Linked DNA regions of Homo sapiens: region 1 is linked to region 2. The links are contacts of gene promoters, found by promoter capture Hi-C in human tissues and cell types (Jung and others, 2019). All regions are on one chromosome and are shown on one strand. The core of a region is centred on a gene start or on the middle of the fragment in contact, and the rest is flanking DNA. Distances in the headings are between cores, read along the strand shown. Region 1 overlaps RNF157 (ring finger protein 157). Region 2 holds the start of SRP68 (signal recognition particle 68).

What was found. Contacts are between HindIII fragments. The study calls those that stand out against the background at their distance.
Region 1: a contact is called between a fragment that was not itself captured here and the fragment with the promoter of SRP68 in region 2, in 4 of the 25 tissues and cell types used here (IMR-90 fibroblasts, hippocampus, lymphoblastoid cells and 1 more).

The regions. Positions count from the first base shown.
Region 1 is chr17:76,217,778-76,223,946 of GRCh38, reverse strand. All of the region lies in intron 1 of RNF157 (ring finger protein 157), which reads left to right. Among named protein-coding and RNA genes, the nearest start is that of RNF157, 20 kb to the left of the region's middle. The HindIII fragment of the contact is 5,006 bases long and covers 1,032-6,037 here.
Region 2 is chr17:76,069,402-76,075,976 of GRCh38, reverse strand. It overlaps SRP68 (signal recognition particle 68), which reads left to right and starts at 3,460. Exons shown (of 16, transcript NM_014230.4): 1 at 3,460-3,669; 2 at 5,533-5,599. The coding sequence starts at 3,486. GALR2 (galanin receptor 2) reads right to left here and starts at 1,196. Exons shown (of 2, transcript NM_003857.4): 1 at 726-1,196. The coding sequence starts at 1,093. RefSeq lists enhancers at 250-1,131, 2,518-3,345, 3,298-3,347, 3,346-4,173. The HindIII fragment of the contact is 13,843 bases long and covers 1-6,575 here.

The DNA of each region.
Region 1 (6,169 bases), core at 2,285-4,784, 150 kb before region 2:
GGCCTTGCCCTGTGTTATTATACTTACTTCTTTCTGATGGTGCTCTGCAAAGTTGTATATGAATTGTGTATGTGTTGAAAACACTGCATGTTCTAACATTTTTTACTGAGGTTCAGAGTTATTTTGCTTTTGTTTCCAAAAATATAAAGTTGGGCAGTGCAGTCTGTTTGGTTTTTTGTTTCATTATATTCCATATTTTATTCTGAACAGGGAGGCTGTACGTTGAACTTAGTGGTTCTTCCACTAGATATGTAAAACACAATATTTAACGTTTATGTGGAAAACAAAATGTTTTTGAGACTAAGGGGTTTGATTTACAATTCCTGTTTGTCAGAAAGAAAAAAATTTGGGTTTTATATGGTTAAGCATTTTATCATCAATTCATTATCCCTCTTTCTTTTTTCCTATTACAGTACAGGAAAAGGAAGAGTCAGGTATTGTTTATGTGTAAAGAACCTTGGCCGAGCATGGTGGCCCATGCCTGTAATCCCAGCACTTTGGGAGGCCGAGGCGGATGGATCACCTGAGGTCAGGAGTTCGAGACCAGTCTGGCCAACATGGTGAAACCCCGTCTCTACTAAAAATACAAAAATTAGCCAGGTTTGGTGGCACATGCCTGTAATCCCAGCTACTTGCAAGGCTGAGGCAGAAGAATCACTTGAACCTGGGAGGCGGATGTTGCAGCGAGCAGAGATTGGACTACTGCACTCCAGCCTGGGTGACAGAGTGAGACTACGTCTCAAAAAAAAAAAAAAAAGGCCGGGTGCGGTGGCTCACCCCTGTAATCCCAGCACTTTGGGAGGCCCAGGTGGGCGGATCACGAGGTCAGGAGATCAAAACCATCCTGGCTAACACGGTGAAACCCCGTCTCTACTAAAAATACAAAAAATTAGCCAGGCATGGTGGCGGGCGCCTGTAGTCCCAGCTACTCGGAAGGCTGAGGCAGGAGAACGGCGTGAACCCAGGAGGCGGAGCTTGCAGTGAGCCAGGATCGGGCCTCTGCACTCCAACCTGGGCAACAGAGCGAGACTCTGTCTCAAAAAAAAAAAAAGAACCTTAAACATTTGGCTCGTCTTCCACATATATATGAAATAATAGACATTACATTTACACACACACACAGTTGTTTGATTTCATTTCTCTCACACACATGCTATTCTTTGCCACTGTCAGATGGAGAGACAGGTGCAGGGTTGAGATGTGGAGTTAGCCAGACCTTCGGTTCAAACCTTGCATCTCTCGGTCTCTGCTGTTTCTTAACTGTGGGACGTTGTGTGAGTCACTGAACTCTTCTAATCCTTAGTTTCCTCAACTGAAAAATGGACGTAAGAGAATATCTTACAGATGAAAATCAGGGATAATTTTGGTAAAGTTCTGTATCTTGCTTACGATACATGCTTGGAAGTTAAAATAAAAATTCAAATGACAGCATTATAACCTGACTGTGCCAAATTCTTCCTCCCCATGTGATTTTTTAAAATTGAGGCGAAGTTCACGTAACATAAAATTATCTTAAAGTGAACGACTCAGTGGCATTTTGAACATTCACAGTGTTGCACAATCCACTACCTCTATTCTAGAACTTTTTTTTTTTTTTTTTGAGACGGGGTCTTGCTCTGTCACCCAGGCTGGAGTGCAGTGACACGATCCTCAGCTCACTGCAACTTCTGCCTCCCAGGTTCAAGCTGTTCTTGTGCCTCAGCCTCCCAAGTAGCTGGGATCACAGGCGTGTGCCACTACACCCAGCTCATTTTTGTATTTTTAGTAGAGACGGGGTTGCTTCATGTTGGCCAGGCTGGTCTCGAACTCCTGACCTTAAGTGATCCACCTGCCTCAGCCTCCCAAAAGGTGTGCGCCACTGCGCCCGGCCTCTAGAACATTTTTATCACCTCAAAATAAAACCAATTAAGCAGTTTGTCCCCACTCTCCCCTGCCCCCATCCCCTGGCAATCACCAGTCTACTCTCTCTGTGGATTTACCTATCTGGATATTTCATATACATGGAATCATACTACAGTATGTGACCTTTTGTGTTTGGCTTCTTTGTCTCAGCATACTGTTTTGGAGGTTCATTCATGTTGTAGCATGTATCAGAACTTCACTTCTTTTTATGGCTGAATAATATTCCGTTGTAAGGACATATGTCGGACACATTATACCTCACATTTTGTTTACCCATTTGTTGTTTGACATTTGTTTCCACCTTTTGATTATTATAAATAGTACTTCTGTGAACCCATATGATTTAAACATCTATTATTTCCTTGTATTTTATTTCTTATAGTTATTTTAGAAGAACCAATGAAGGAGCATGAACAATAGCTGGTACCAAGAAAGTCCTGGTTTTTGTTGATTGTATACAGTAAAATATTTGGAAATTAAAGGGTTTAATAAAATAAAGTCTGTACTTTGGATTTTCTGTTGCCATACTTTCCCCCCTTACAATATATTCTTTGAGGAAACCTGGTCATTTTTCTTGTTAAGGTTTTCTGCAGCCTGAGTTTTGCCAGTTGCCTCCTTGAACTCTCATTAATCATGTTCTGTTTTATTCCCTATAAGCTGGTGGTTAACTGGTTTCAGCAGCTTGATCAAGTTCATTTTTTTTAAAGCTTTAAAATTTGAAGCTACTTACTTTGGTAAGACTACTTTGTTGTATTTGCTGTCACTAGCGTGTATCTGGTTGTCTTTTTTGTGGGGGAGAGGTTTGGTAATGGATGATTTATTAATTTATTAAGACTTACATTCTAATCCTATCATTCCTTCTTTGTTTATTAGCTAGAATATTTCTGTAAAGAGAAACTTTCCCTCATCTACCTTTTCTTTTTGTTTTGAAATAGGGTCTCTGTTGCCCAGGCTGGAGTGCAGTGGTGCAAACACGGTTCACTGCAGCCTTGACCTACTGAGTTCAAGTAATTCTCCCGCCTCAGCCTCCTGAATAGCTAGGACCAAGGCCCTTGCCACCAAGCCGGCTAATTTTTTTTTTTTTTTTGAGACAGCATCTCACTTTATTGCCCAGGTCAGAGTACAATGGCGCAATCTCGGCTCACTACAACCTCTGCCTCCCCGGTTCAAGTGATTCTCCTGTTTCAGCCTCCTGAGTAGCTGGGATTAAAGGTGCACACTACCACACCCAGCTAATTTTTGTATTTTTAGTAGAGACAGGGTTTCACCATGTTGGCCAGGCTGGTGTCAAACTCCTGACCTCGTGATCCACCCACCTCGGCCTCCCAAAGTGTTGGGATTACAGGCGTGAGCCACTGCGCCTGGCCCAGCTAACTAAAAAAAAAAAAATAATAAATTTGTAGAGACAGTGTCTTGCCATGTTGCCTCGGCTGGTCTCAAACTTCTGGGCTCAAGGCCTTCCCAAGTGCTGGGATTACAGGTGTGAGCCATGGTACCCGGCCTCCCCTCATCTATTAATTATTCACTCACCCAGAGGTACAGTTCATGTAGGAAAGGCAAGATAAATGCTTGAGGCTTTCCCTTTAATTGCTAGTTTCCAAAATAATGAATTGGTTTACTAGCATCCTTCAAAGGTAACCTTTTTTTTTTTTTTTTTTTAGATATCATTACGAACTCATTGACTTAGACTTATTCCTTGCCCTTATTATCCTGATGAAGCTTAATATATTCCATCTTTGCTCTGCGGGAACCTCTTTAAGTCAGCTCTTGAGTCCCTTGGATATGACCCTAGTAGGTTTAGAGAGCGTCCTTGTTATCTGGTATGACAAGATGTTCTAGTCCCATCTTGTGTATTTCCTGCCACAGACTTGGAATGTGGCCTCCAAAGAGCCCTTGTTCCTGTTAGTGGGGAATGACTTTTGCAGACTTACAGGCTGGATGCTAGCGGCACCCCCTCCTACTTTGTTGGTCTATGTTTCTAGGCCTTTTCAGTGGCCCAAGCTAGGAAACATTGTTTGTAAAGATAAAATACACATCATGCATTTTTATTGATATTTCTAATACAAATTCAGGACTATATGGTTTTTGTTTAACCTTGGCTTTTTTTAACTTTCTCTCTGATTCTCAATACGCTAGGTATGATAAAATTGAAAATCACATAATTACTCATCTGCTTAATGCCACATTCTCGGAAGAAAATACTGTCACCAATAATATGATTACTGTAAACTGTTTGAGATATATTTTTCGCAGTTTTCTTTCCTATTGAGATGTACAGTTAAATTACAGTCTCTTAAAGTTCTTGGGAATAGTTTCTCTTTCTGTAGTTATTCCACTACACACACACCTAGGTTCATTTGTTTCACTTTACTTTTGATTTTTAGGGATTGCTTTACAGAAATTTTAATTTTATAATTATGTAAAATGTTTACATGGTTCCAGTGGTAGATACATAAAGCAATGCGTATTCAAAGAAATCTACCTTCTGTCTGGTCCCTTCTACTTCGTTCCCTCCCTCCTCCTATAGATAATCACTTTAAGATTATTATGATTTATCCTTACATTGCTTGTTTTAAAAATATTAATTAATATGTATATATCTTCATAGCCACTCTTCCTTACACACATGGTAGCATAATATAAATTAAGCCTATTTGTATTTATTGATATGATTGATATGTTTGGCTTAAGGCTGGCCATTTTATGTTATATTTATATGTATATAAATATATGTAAAAATTTATATAGTCTTTATGTAGTCTGTTTTGTTTGCTCTTTTTTTAAGATGTATTTTTTGGATTTAGGAAGGTTTGTATTTTTCTCTAATGGTTACCCTTATTTAATCTTTATATACTGCTGTTAAATTGTTATTATTATTATTTTTGTCTGTTAGTTTCCTACTGTGAATAATATGGATATAACTAGTAACCTCTTCACTCACCTCTCCTCTTTACTCCAGCATTTGAAGTATCTCCTTTGACTCTCACTTACACCTAAAGTTTGTCAGCAAACATATTCTGCTTTTTCTCTGCTATCCATCCCCCTTCTTTATTTTTTGAGAGCTGTACTGTATTTTCTTTGTTTTTATTTTTTATTTTTTTTTATTTTTTTGAGATGGAGTCTTGCTCTGTCACCCAGGCTGGAGTGCCGTGGTGTGATCTTGGCCCACTGCAACCTCCACTTCCCGGGTTCAAGTGATTCTTCTGCCTCAGCCTCCCGAGTAGCTGGGACTACAGACACATGCCATCACTCCCGGCTAATTTTTGTATTTTTAGTAGAGACGAAGTTTCACTATGGTGGACAGGCTGGTCTCAAACTCCTGACCTCAGTTGATCTGCCCACCTTGGCCTCCCAAAGTGCTGGGATTACAGGTGTGAGCCACCATGCCTGGCCTGTTTTTCCTTTATTGAGACAGAGTCTCACTCTGTTGCCCAGGCTGGAGTCCAGGGGTGTGATCATAGCTCACTCCTGCCTTGACCTCCAGCAATCCTCCCACCTTAGCTTCCCGAGTATCTAGGACCACAAGCACATGCCACCATGCCTGGCTAACTTTTTAATTTTTTTATTGTAGAGATGAGGTCTTGCTATGTTGCCCAGGCTGATCTTGAACTTCTGGGCTCAAGCAATCCTCCTGCCTTGGCCTCCCAAAGTACTGGGATTGCAGGCGTGAGCCACTGGGCTTGGCCTGGAAGCTTATTCCTTAGTAGACTCCTCAGATGAGCTCAGGGGCTTTTCTTTCTTTGACTACCTTAGAATGTTACTCCCTTGTCTTCTGACATAAAGTGTTTCTGTTGAAAAGTCTGATGACACCGATTTTCTTCCCCTCTAGAATTTTGACTTTTTGCCTGGGTGCCTTTCTTTCTTTAAAGGTCAGTCATTTTACTGAACTTGTCTTAGTGTTGATCATTCTGGCTCATACCTTTTGGTTTTTTTTCTTGATATTTATGTGTTTATTATTGTGGCAAAAAAACACATAACGTTAAATTTAATCATAGTAACCATTTTTAAGCATTCATTAGTGTTACATATATTCACTCTGTTTTGCAACAGATGTCTAGAACTTTTTTATTTTATAAAACTAAAACTATGTACTTGTTAAACATTAATTTCCCCTTTCTCCTTCCCACTCATACCTTACGGTTTACGTATAATCTTGGAGATATGTGTATGATGTGACTTTTTAAAGCCTGCAAAGAATTCTGAATATGAGTTTTGATTAATAAATTATAGCTCACTAATAATGAAACACTCGAAGTTTATCTACTAG
Region 2 (6,575 bases), core at 2,211-4,710:
GTCCCGCGCTCTCCCGAATGTGCGTCTCTCGCTCTCCTCTGGCTGGGGAGGAAGAACCCCAGGGCACGCTCCTCTCCCGGCCCCGACTTGTTTTGGATTTTATTTTGTTTTGTTTTGTTTGGAGGCGAGAGGCAGAGTGGGCTGGGACTGAGCTAGGGACCTTTAGGCACGCTCGCTGGGACTCCGGAGTGGATCCTTGCAAAGGACCCAAGATCCACAGCCTGGACCTGAGCCAGCTGCACCAACCAACCAAACCGTGGCTTGGAGGCGAGCGCAGTGGAGGCGCCTGAAGTTGGCTGCAGGAGACAGACGGTCACTTCACGCACCCGATCCCTGGCTGGCGACTCTGAGCGAGTTACTTAGGAACTCAACTCTTCTGTATATTGGGCACTTTGTCCTATCCCACCCTCACGGAGGGCATTAAGCTCAAGCGAGATGAACGCGCACAAACGCGTCGTACTGGGAAACGCTGCGCGTTGTCAGGCACGGGCGGCGCTGGAGAGCCACATTCTCCAGGCTTCCAGGCCCCAGGACGCATCTAACCGAGGGACACCACGGTCCCCCATTCTTATTCCTCTTTTTCCTCCTCCGCGCCCGCTTGTCTTCCACTGCCTTCTTAGTGTCCTGTCCCACTCTGCGCGTCCCTTCTTGGTCCCCAGTCCCGCCTCCCGCTCCATCCCCCGCGTGGATGCCCATCTCCCAGGGAGGCCAAGGCGCTGGCTCACCTGTCCAGGGAGACGGCGGCCAGCGTGAAGCTGCTGGCGTGCATGGTGAGGAAGATGAGGAAGTGCACCGCCTTGCACAGCAGCGAGCCGAACACCCAGCCGTCCAGGGTGTAGATGGTGGCCTGGAAGGGCACGCAGCACAGGATGAAACACAGGTCGGCCACGCCCAGGTTAAGGATGAACAGGTTGGTAGTGCTGACCGCCTGGCCGCCGCGCAGCAGCACCGCCAGCACCAGCGTGTTGCCCACGGTGCCCACGAGGAAGATGAGCGCGAAGAGCAGGGGCACGATGACCGCCTCGGGGTGCCAGCCTCCCCCGCCGCCCGCCTGGCTCGCGTTCCCGGCCCCTGGGCAGCCCGAGACGTTCATGGTGCCGCTGACCCCGAGGCTGCCCGGGCTCCTGCAGCCGTCTGGGTCTCCGCGAGCGGGAAGCTCCCGGGGCTGCGGCCGCTGCAACTCCTAGTGCGACTCTGCCGGGCTGAAGGCGGAGGGAGCCTTGCCTCATCTGGGGCGGGGATGGGGGTGCGCTGGGGTCAGGAGGAGGAGCAAGAGACAGGAGGGCGAGGTTGTCCCCAGCAGCGGCCGGCGGCGCTGGGGGAAGGGCTGCGGAGTGGTCCCGGCGCGCATTCCACGGCGCAGGCGGAGAGTGGCGCTTGTACCTGCTTCCGAGCTCCAGCCCCCGCAGTCGGGGGTTCTGGGCTGACCAGGCGGACTGACTTCCCCGGCAGACGCCGGAGCGGTGGAGGGGTCGACCCCGGACCCTGCGTGTGCGCCGCGCCGCAGGGAGCACGGACCTCGCACTCCGCGCGCCTCGGCGCTTCCCTGCAGCCTGGCAGGGGTGCAGGATATCCCGGGACCGTCGAGGGGCTGGGGTGCCCTCAAAAGAGGACCCCTGGGAGATCGGGGGGAGGAAACGCGGGGCGGAGGCGGATGAGGGGCCCCGGAGTCTGGCTCTTTCGCCCAGGCTAGAGTGCAGTGGCGCGATCTCGGCTCACTGCAACCTCCGTCTCCCGGGTTCAAACGGTTCTCCTGCCTCGGCCTTCTGAGGGGCTGGGACTACAGGCGTCCGCCACAACGTCTGGCTAGTTTTTTGTATTTGTATTTGTTGAGACAGAGTCTCACTCTGTCGCCCAGGCTGGAGTGTAGTGGCATGATATCGGCTCACTGCAACCTCCGCCTCCCGGGTTCAAGCGATCCTCCTGCCTCAGCCTCCCGAGTAGCTGGGATGACGGGCGCCTGCCACCACGCCTGGCTTATTTTCGTATTTTTAGTAGAAATGGGGTTTCACCATGTTGGCCAAGCTGGTCTCAAACTCCTGACCTCAAGTGATCCGCCCACCTCGGCCTCCCAAAGTGCTGGGATTACAGGCGTAAGCCACCGAGCCCGGCCACCTTTTTCCCTTCTCTTACCCATTGAACGTTTTCCCTCCAATTCAATCCAATATACTGAGCATCTATTGTGTCAGGCTCTGTCTTTGGCTCCATGCCTCAGTTTCCTCAGCTGTAACAAGGAAATGGTAACACTTCCTTCTAAGAGGGATCTGCTGAGAAAGGAATGAGATGTATGGGAGAGTTAGTTAAATCTGAATGCATCAGATCCTTATTCTTTTTCTCCTGACCTTATTCCGTATACCTTGAGGAAATTCAAAATAGAGTTCAGGGCCGGGCGCGGTGGTTCACGCCTGTAATCCCAGCACTTTGGGAGGCCGAGGCGGGCGGATCACGAGGTCAGGAGATCGAGACCATCCTGACCAACATGGTGAAACCCCGTCTCCACTAAAAATACAAAAATTAGCGGGACGTGGTGGCAGGCGCCTGTAATCCCAGCTACTCGGGAGGCTGAGGCAGGAGAATGGCTTGAACCCAGGAGGCAGAGGTTGCAGTGAGCCGAGATCACACCATTGCACTCCAGCCTGGGCAACAAGAGCGAAACTCTATCTAAAAAAAAAAAAAAAATCCGTCATTTAATCTTCCTAACAACCACTTAAATTGGTTATCCCCATTTCATAGATGAAGGAACAGATTTACAGGGAGATTAAGTTACGTGCCCAACATGTCCCTGCCGCTAATGACGGAGCGGGGATTGGAATCCCAGGTCTCAGACTCTAGAAGGTGCAAAGCAAAAATTCATATTTTCCCATGTCTCAACACTTCTCCCTCTTTGGACTGACGGCCCCAAAGTGCAGTGGTCCACGGCCCCAAGCGGTCTGAGAAAGTCACCCCGTTAGGACACCGTCTGCTGACTGCGCAGCGCTTCCTCCGGCTTGGCGTTCTTACGGCCAGCCTCAGAGGAAAGGGCAGGCAGAGGCGGGTCCCTTACGGACGGGGTGTCCCGTTCCGGTAGGGAGGACCCCATCTCTTGAGTCCCTGGGGATGCAGACACCCCGAAATCCAGTATCTTTGGTCTCCTGCTTTCTGCTGGGCAGGACGTGAACCAGATCCCCAGTCCAGGATGCAGGACCTGGGGTCCACCTCCGGTTCTCCGCCCTTAGTGGGTGGGAGGTGGGACTGCCCCCTGAGATCTCAGCAGCCACGGTCTCACTGCGGCCTCAAGTCCCCACCTAGCCAGCCACAATTCCGGACCCGGGATGACAGGATCCCTCGCGCAGGCGCGCTCCAGCACATGGCGCCCTGCTGCAGCAAGGGCCGACGGCGGCGGAGTCCGCCGCTATCCCATCAGCCCGGCCAGGCAGGTCCAGCTCTCACCCGCCCAGGTCGTCCCGCCTCCCCTATCCCGTCTTGCTCTGCGGCGCAGGGGCAAGATGGCTGCTGAGAAGCAGGTCCCAGGCGGCGGCGGCGGCGGCGGCAGTGGCGGCGGCGGTGGCAGTGGCGGCGGCGGTAGCGGCGGTGGACGTGGTGCCGGAGGGGAAGAAAATAAAGAAAACGAACGCCCTTCGGCCGGATCGAAGGCAAACAAAGAATTTGGGGATAGCCTGAGTTTGGAGAGTATCCTAGAGTAATCGGGCCTAACTCGCAATGATTACGTGTCGAACTGGAGGGCTGGGGGCGGGAGAGGCGGCGGGTCCCGACAAGTCCTGGCAGGAGAGGCCGAGGGTTGCAGTTTCTCTCGCCCTTACCTTTTGGTGCTCAGAATTCCGGGGGGGGTCTGTCTCTCGACTAGTCTTTCCTCGTGTCCCCCTCGCCGTCCTGGCTAGGTCCGTTTCTTCCAGTGGCACTGGGATATCAGGCAGGTTTCCCCTGGTGCCCCGCAGTTGTCCAGTTGGAGGGCTTGTGACCAAGTGACACCTTGAGCACCTTGCTTTGGCACCTTGAGCCACTGAACTGGGGAGAGGAAACTGCAGTCTTGACATTTGGCTTAATACTCTTGTCTGACAGTCGTCATAGACTGAGTAGTAAAACCTACAGCTCGATACTTTGAAAGTGGAGGTAAAGATTGACTCAGGAAAAGCTTGTTGCCCATTTTGATTGTAAGTTACCGTAGTTAATATCGATTGTGTCATTTTTTTCTGATCGGTCTGTAGGCATTTTATCTTGCTGACAGTCATTCATATAAGCTGGAGGAATCGGTTTCTAGTTTCCATCAGTGTGTATCTCAACCAAGTGCTTGTGGTACTAGTTTGTGACCTTTTGAAATGAATAACAAATGGAGAAAACGTAGGCGAGTTTCTGAAATAACACATTCAACTTGACATCTTAATGTGCTTAAAGTTCTCAGGCGCTTGGAGTTAAATATTTTGAATTACTGGTAATAGTTCCAAGTAGACGCTAGCGAGCCCTGATTTTACTGAGACCTTTATATCTCTTTGTCCCGTTTTAGTAATTTAAAGAGTCCTTTTAGCGTTCACTATTTTAAAATATGTCTCTAGAGAAGTGTTGAGGAAACATTAAAACTATACCTATATAGATGAAGGTCATTGGACTTTCTAAAGATTAGTACATAATCTTAAATATTTTAAGATTATTAAAAGGAGAATCTGGCCATTCTTCTTTTGAAAGAAAAACCTTAATACTTTTATGCAAACTGTAGCCTAGCTTGGTTGACATGTGCTAATCATAGACTCTCTAAGCATCACAGCTGTTAAGGAAAGTTAGATTTGGCAGGTGTTGGAGATTATGCAAATGGAGGCTTAGTACATGTCATTTATAACCTGAATCTGAATGAATAAAATGTGGGGTCTAGGTGTTAATTGGTGTGAAGCACCCCAATTATAGTCAGCATTTAGAATCCATCAGCTTAATTTAAACTGGGTTTTGGCAGTTTCCAGTGGCCAGTAGTGCCCTCCTTTTTCAGTTTGCAAGTAGTAACAGTTCAGGCAATCAGTTTTCCTGTAGGTTAGCCCTGTCCTGTGACAAGATAGATATTGAAAATGGTTACAAAAGATCTCACCAGTGTACTAAATATTTCACAAATTTGTGTGTGTGTGTGTGTGTGTGTGTGTGTGCATGTGCATGTGTGACTGAATCTCACTCTCACCTAGGCTGGAGTGCAGTGGCGCTGTCTTGGCTCATTGCAACCTCTGCCTTCCAAGTTCAAGCGATTCTCCTGCCTCAGCCTCCCGAGTAGCTGGGATTACAGGTGCTAGCCATTGCGCCCGGCTAATTTTTTGTGTTTTTAGTAGAGACGGGGTTTCACCATGCTGGCCAGGCTGGTCTTGAACTCCTGACCTCAGGTGATACACCCGCCTCGGCCTCCCACAGTGCTGGGATTACAGGCATGAGCCACCGTACCTGGCTATATTTCACAAATGTTTAATGTGTTGTGGTTTGACACAGATATAGACTGATGGTACAGGTTTTGATTTGTTTGGATTCTTGCTATGGTAAGATTTTCCTTAATCTCGACTCTAGTTCTTCAGATTATTAAGGAATCCCAGCAGCAGCATGGTTTACGGCATGGAGATTTTCAGAGGTACAGGTTAGTATCACATACAAGATGTTTGGAAATCATTGTGGGACTTGCTTTGCTTTTGTTAATATCCTGTTTACTCTGCTATATCAGCAAATATGCTAGAAAGTCTAGAGCATTGTTTTTTTTGTTTGTTTGTTTGCTTTGTTTTTTTTTTTTTTTTTGAGATGGAGTCTCGCTCTGTCGCCAGGCTGGAGTGCAGTGGCGCAATGTTGGCTCACTGCAACCTCCACCTCCTGGGTTCCAGCGATTCTCCTGCCTCAGCCTCCTGAGTAGCTGTTTTTTTTGTTTGTTTGTTTGTTTGTTTTTTGAGATGGAGTCTCACTCTGTCACCCAGGCTGGAGTGTAGTGGCGCAATCCTGGCTCACTGCAGCCCATGCCTCCCGGGTTCAGGTGATTCTCCTGCTTCTGCCTCCAGAGTACCTGGGATTATAGGCATGTGCCACCATGCCTGGCTAATTTTTGTATTTTTAGTAGAGATGGGGTTTCGCCATGTTGGCCAGGCTGGTCTCAAACTCCTGACCTCAGGTGATCCACCCACCTCAGCTTCCCAAAGTGTTGGAATTACAGGCGTGAGCCACCGTGTCTGGCCTATTTCTTTTTTTTTTTTTCTTTTAAATAATCTATACCCTGGTAGCTTTGATTGAGATGCTGAAGTAGTATTTATTTTATTTATTTTTGATACGGAGTCTCACTCTGTTGCCCAGGCTGGAGTATAGTGGCGCGATCTCGGCTCACTGCAACCTCCGCCTCCCGGGTTCAAGTGATTCTTCTGCCTCAGCCTCCTGAGTGGCTGGGACTGAAGGCACATGCCACCATGCCCGGCTAATTTTTAGTAGAGACAAGATTTCACCATGTTGGCCAGGCTGGTCTTGAACTCCTGACCTCAGGTGATCCACCTGCCTCAGCCTCCCAAAGTACTGGGATTACGGGTGTGAGCCAATGTGCCTGGCCTATTTATTTATTTTTATTTCATTTTATTTAT